2 separate regions of the Homo sapiens genome follow, and region 2 is linked to region 1. The links are contacts of gene promoters, found by promoter capture Hi-C in blood cells and fetal thymus (Javierre and others, 2016). All regions are on one chromosome and are shown on one strand. Each heading gives the region's core, a stretch centred on a gene start or on the middle of the fragment in contact. The rest is flanking DNA. Distances are from core to core; before and after follow the strand shown.

Region 1 (3,077 bases), core at 181-2,680:
GGCTCACTACTCCTCATTAGGGTCTCTCAGCGAAGGGGGTAGCCTTTTTTTTTTTTTTTTTTTTTTTTGAGACAGAGTCTTGCTCTGCTGCCCAGGCTGGAGTGCAGTGGCCAGATCTCCACTCACTGCAATCTCTTTGGTTCAAGCATTCTCCTGCCTCAGCCTCCCAAGTAGCTGGGATTACTGGCCCACGCCCGGCTAATTTTTGTATTTTTAGTAGAGATGGGGTTTCACCATGTTGGCCAGGCTGGTCTCGGACTCCTGACCTCAGGTGATCCACCCGCCACCACTCCAGCCTGGGCAACAGAGTCTGAGACTCCGTCTCAAAAAAAAAAAAAAAAAAAAAAAAAAAGTCATACTGGCATAGAGTGAACCCCTAATCCAATATGACTGGTATCCTTATAAAAATACTTTTTTTTTGGAGACGGAGTCTCTCTCTGTCGCCCCAGGCTGGAGTGCAGTGGCGCGATCTCGACTCACTGCAACCAAAAGGAGACATTTTGACATGGAGACATATACAGGGAATATGCCCTGTGAACATGAAGATGGCCATATGCAAGCCCAGGAGAGAAGCCTGGAAGAGACCGTTTCCTCACAGCGCTCAGAAGGAAAGAACCCTGCCAACATCTTGCTTTCAGATGCCCCCAGGATTGTCAGACAATAAGATCTGTTATTGACGCCACCGGGTTGGTGATACTTAGGTACAGCAGCCCTAGCAAACGAATACACCCCCATGAGAACTAAGCTCCCTGAGAGCGGTAAGCTGCCTTGTCTTGCTCACAGCTGACAAGAACACGCCTGTACGGTCACTTAGCACCTAGTACTGCCATTTAACCGTTTCACTAGTATGTATGAACCGGAGAGCCTGTCAAGGGAAGAGCTGAATCTTTTATCTTTTGTAACGACTACCCAGTGAAAGAAACCGCGGGTATGCAATAAAAACCTGTTGAATCGATTAAACCATTTCCCTTATTTCCAGATTTTTGCGGAAAGCGCCAGTAGGTGAAATATGTGCGGACTGATGAGTCAAAGCTCTTATTCCCTGGACTGCATTAATACCCACGACGTGCTTTTCGCTCTCCAGACAAAGAGACCGGTACTTGGCAGGTCCCTCAAGTGGGACTCAAAAGACCGAACCGAGCTGCAGCCTTTCGCTAGCACTGGTCCTCGCCCCTTTTGGCATCTTGGTACTTGTAGTTTTGTCCACTCTATCTTTACCCGAAAAGCCAGCGCTGAGACCACAACTCCCATCACCCTGCGAGCACCAGCGCCTTCAGAGCGCATCCTCCGAGGGGCACCAGCGCCATTGACCACCCTGCTGGCCGAAGGGCCCGCCTTCCCGAGGCCAGGCGCTCCCGCGATTGGCCAGCCGCCCCGCCTCTCATCGGAGGGCGCCAGGTGAATGAAAGGGGGGCGTGTCGGTGCGCGGTGCTCCGTGGCTGCGCTGCTGGAACCCGCTGGAAGGTGAGCGCGAAGAAGCGGGTTGGCGCTGCCGCTTTCGTTGGTTTGGGGAGGATTCCTAGCACCCGGGAGGCTGGCTGGAGATTGGGGTTAGCGGGCAGGGTTGCCCCCACTCAGTCATCCTCCTTCGGACCGCTTGGCCCTGGCAACTCCTGGGACCTCCGCCCCGCGAGCCCTTCTAGCGTGGGGAGGGGCAGGCGCGGCCGTGGGGCCCCAGCTTCCCTGTCATTGGGTGTCCTCCGCGTCGTCCAGCCGGGGGTCGCGGCGCCGACTACTTCCACGGTGAATGGTGCCCAGGCGTGGGGGGCTCGGCCACACTGGAGAAGTGCCAGCGGCAGCGATGGCCACTTTGTCCGCGGGAGGCCATGGGAGGGGCTAGGCCTTGGGGTCCCACCCTCGGGGGCCGTGCCCTGTAGCTGGTTCTGGTGGCCTCTCTGCAGGTCGTCTGATGCTGGACGGGGGAGGGTCTGTCTTGCGAGCAGTTTAGATGCAGTTGACCCTGAAATTCTTCGTATGGAAATGGAAACTTCTCCAGTGTCCTTCTCCTCCGATCCATGCCTAAAAGAAAGGAGTGACTTCCCCAACCTGTCGCATCGTGTCCTGGAGGGTTTGAGGAGGCCGGTTAGCATAGTGGTTAAGGATGTCAACCCGGGAGTCAGTCGGATCTCTGTTCTATTACTAACTTGGTGATGTTATCTGCATCTTTGAATCTCAGTTCCTCCTCTGAAAAAGAGGATGTAGTTAGAGTATCTGTCGTACTGGATTATTGTGAGGTGAAAACTAATGTGCTTGTAAAAGCCAGGCATGGTGGCGCGCACCTGTAGTCCCTGCTACTCGGGAAGCTAAGGTTGGGAGGATCTCTTGAGCCCAGGAGTTCCAGGCTGCATTGAGGTAGGATCGTGCACTCCAACCTGGGCAACCGAGCAAGACCGTGCCTTTTAAAAATTTTAATTTAAAAAGTAAAATGAATATGCTTGTACTTTGTACAGTGTTTTATAAGGAATAGTGCTTAATATTTACTAAAATTGAGGAGCAGGTTTTTGTTATTCTCAGGTTGGTGGGACTGGAGGAGTCTTGTCAGAAAGGGTCGGAGGTGGAATTCAAGGCTGCTTTTGGCCTCTGAACAGAGACAGTTGTGTGATCTGGCTAGGACTCCCTCAAGGGTATATGAGAGTTTGTATTGCAGGTAGTTGTGTTGGCATCTGCTGTCTCCTGGAGGACAGGCACTATACTTGGTTCATTTTTCTATTCCTGGCATCTTCCTTGTGTCAGGCATTGTATGTAGCCGGTAACCGTTGAATTGAGTTGGAACCGTGGGATGGTTGGGAGGTTCCCTGCCAGAGTGCGGATAAATGTGCTTCTGAGAGCAGTCTGCCCTAAGAGCTGCTCTTCTGGGATAAGTGGTGATCCTCAGCACTTCCCGGGGCAGCAGAGCACTTCAGGCAAATGGGGGTGATATAAATAAATATTTACACAATATATACCAAGTACAGGATTGGGGAAAATTTTGAAGAAAATACTATACGGATAGACTTTTGCAACGTCAGGAAGTAGAATAAAAATAATTGCAATAGAATAAAAAATAATTTCAGTAAGAAAGCCAAAAGAAATTGGTT
Region 2 (3,234 bases), core at 363-2,862, 300 kb after region 1:
TTGAAATGGAGTCTTGCTCTGTCATCCAGGCTGGAGTGCAGTGGTGGGATCTTGGCTCACTGCAGTCTTCGGCTCCCAGGTTCAAGAGATTCTCCTGCCTCGGCCTCCCGAGTAGCTGAGATTACAGGCATGCACCACCACACCAAGCTAATTTTTAATTTTAATTTTAGTAGAGACAGGGTTTCACCATGTTGGGCCAGGCTGATCTCGAATTCCTGACCTCAAGTGATCTGCCCACCTTGGCCTCCCAAAATGCTGGGATTACAGGCGTGAGCCACAGCAATCTTAAAAAGAGGAGTTATTAGCCTTATTTTCATATGAGATCGTGACTTGTGTGATGGAGCTGGATTTGAACCTCGACCTGACTTCTTTTCCAGTACTTCTCCACCTCACCTCCTTTTTTACTGCCTTCACCCATGGACTGTTTCTTGGCTAATTCTGTTCTCCCTGCCTGGTGATCCAGGACAGAATCACTGACAGCGTGGGGCCAATGTGAAGAATTCCAGGCTAGGGGAGAAGGAGGTCTGCTTTGAAGTCTAGCCTCTGCAAGATTAAGTGTGATCTTGGAGAGTTTACTGTGTTTCTCTGGGCTTCTGATGTCACATTGCCAAAGTAGGAAGAAAGTCCTTTGGAAAGTGTGGGGCTGAACCTATGTATGAGGGGCTGTACTGCCAGCCACTGTGGTTCTGCTCTGGGCATCTCCCTGGCTTCCCAGGACTGTGTCCTGGGACTGGCCCCTGCCCCTCTGGGGGCCTCTGCCCACAGCCTTGCCATCCCACTAGCAGCTCTGGGCTCCTGCCTGGCTGCTGCAGGCTCCGAGCTCTTTCCCCAGGGAATTACGCTAGGCAGCCAGGAGGCTTGCAGGTGGGCACCCTGCCAAGTCTAGTCTGGTAGCCCCTCCACCTACCATCTGGCAGCTGGGACCCCTGCCTTAACTCTGGACTTGCAGGCAGGGTGAGTGATCTGCTGCTGGATTGAGTATCTTCGGTCCTCCTAATCATACTCTACTGGAGCAGAGCACCCACGGACTCCTGGCCTCAGTTGCCTTTCTGTGCCCCTGCACCCCATTTAAGGGGTGGGGTCGGCAGATGGGCGGGATCAGTGGCGAAGGTGGGAGGAGGACATGGAGAGCAGCCCCTCCCCCTCCTCTGTCTGGAGCCGGTGCTCTGCGGCGGGGCGGGAGGGCTCGCATCCCCATAGTGCTGGGTTACAGTGAAGGTACGCCCCGCGCTCTGCTCTGGAGAGGCAGGGTGGGATAGGGAACGTCTCGAGTGGCGCCCGCAGTCATGGTGGTGTTCGTTGGCCGCCGCCTCCCGGCGCTCCTAGGGCTGTTTAAGAAGAAGGGTGAGTGGGTGTGGCTTGGGGGGAGGGGAGGGATGCTCGATGCCTCCCTTTCCCAGACCCTTATGTAGAATGAGGAATCAAGGCTGGGCAAAAGTAATGGGGTGGGGCTGGGGGCTGATAATGAGGCCAGAATCTCCCATCCGGCTGTGCTTTTGTCCAGCCGCTTTGTTGCTGCCTTTGTCTGGGCCCTGCTTGTGGGTTGGGAGGATGGATCCAGGTGTCTCTGACCTTGAAGCCTGCAGCCCTCCCGTGAGACTTGCCTCCCTGCCGGGGTACCCACACTTTACTGGGTACAGCCTCCCAGTCAAGATGTACTAGCCTTTCCTAGTGTGCCGGGGAGGATGGGACGTGGGCGGCCCAGAAGAGAGGAGAGTAGTACCACTGGAAGTTGGGAAGCCTGCTCAGTGAAATCCTGTTTAGAGGCCTGGGAATGGAGAAGTTTTGGAGGGAGGGGCCTGTTCCTCCTTCCTTCTCCTAGGAATTGGGCTTTCAGACCTGGATTAAGACATAGGGACAAGAGTTTATTGGACTTTTGAGGGTTGGGGGCCCCTACTCTGAGTGTGATCCGGGAGTCCCCTCTGGGAACCTGGAGTTGAGTCCAGGGTCAGTCTGACTCCTACTGCTGGGTGACCTTAGGCAAGGCCTTGCCCCTTTGAACCGTTTCCCCACTTGTAAAATCTGGGGATCTCGGGCACTGGTCTGGTTGGATCTGTTGGGGGCCTCCTAGCTCTGACCTGTGGGATTCCTGCAGACTCCCTAGGGCAGGAGCTCTGGCTGTTGACGAATGGGCTGAGGGAGGAGGAAAGGCAGGTTTCTGAACTGAAGACCCTGCTCCTGGAGCATGGCCCTTTAAAGGGCTTGTTTTGTTCCCGTCCCTTTATAAGGTGTTACCAAGGTCACATGACCCTTCCAGCGCTTTTGCTTATGTTGTGGGTTTCATTTAAAGGGGGGGCTGGGGCTGCAAAGTGCTGACACAGCCCCCCATCCCCAGGATTAGATGGCCAGCCCCTCCACAGGCGGGGCTTGTAACAGGATCCTTTGTAATGGATCCCTGGCTCCTCTGCAACAGGGGCCAGGGCCAGGGCCAGGGCCTCCAGGAGAGGGGGATACCTGGGACTATTTCCCCAAGAGAGACTGGAGCTCCCTTGGGCGGGTGGAGGGGCCTGGGTCTTTCTTCTCCCCTCCCCTGCCCATCCTTCCACTAAGGGGCAGCCACATGGGTGAGTAGGGGACCCAGGAGGCTATCTCCTTGGTCTGCATCCCCCCTAGGATTTTCTGGGAATATGGTTGTAACTCATGCCAGCTGTCTCTCCTTCCTGATTTCCCGTGATATCTTCTTCCTGGACCTGGTTCAAGTGGTGGCATGAAAAGAGTGGTTTGTTTTCCTGTGAAGTGGGGTTTTGGGTATGGAGGCGAGAGCAATGTATTTACTATGGGCTATGTGTATACTCGGGATGTTTTTTGTGGGGCTCTGAGTGACGTGTGAGTACATAGTCGTGTGTATACTTGGTTACTGTTTGTGTATATACAGAGCAGGGACTGTGGGTGTTGTGTGTTTACGTGCGGGCTGGGTGTGCTTGGTGTGTGTACCTATGTGTGTTTATACTCGGATGCCCTTTGTTTATATACATGAATGACATCTGTGAGTGCTGTGTACGTACACAGTAGACCTGTGTACCTGTGTGCCCTGTGTGTGGGGCCTTATATGGGGCCCTTTGTGTGGTGTGGGTACTCAGATTTATGTACACTTGGGTGTAGTTTGTGTATATGGGGGCTGTGTGTGTTGAGTGTTTACTCCAGAACTGTGGGTTATGTGTCCAGACTGGGGAAGGGGGCATTGCTTGTATATGCAATGGCCGTGTGCAGTCTGGGGACCATGACTGCCCTTGC

Evidence for each region. Contacts are between HindIII fragments. The CHiCAGO score rates a contact against its expected background, and 5 or more counts as called.
Region 2: a fragment that was not itself captured here is called in contact with the fragment with the promoter of ZBTB8B in region 1 in 1 of 17 cell types (M1 macrophages); the score reaches 5.2 in M1 macrophages.

The regions. Positions count from the first base shown.
Region 1 is chr1:32,463,642-32,466,718 of GRCh38, forward strand. ZBTB8B (zinc finger and BTB domain containing 8B) reads left to right here and starts at 1,431. Exons shown (of 4, transcript NM_001145720.2): 1 at 1,431-1,464. The HindIII fragment of the contact is 8,233 bases long and covers 1-3,077 here.
Region 2 is chr1:32,764,484-32,767,717 of GRCh38, forward strand. The region is part of intron 1 of NHSL3 (NHS like 3); the gene reads left to right. Among named protein-coding and RNA genes, the nearest start is that of NHSL3, 24 kb to the left of the region's middle. RefSeq lists enhancers at 1,159-2,051, 2,052-2,945. The HindIII fragment of the contact is 3,729 bases long and covers 1-3,234 here.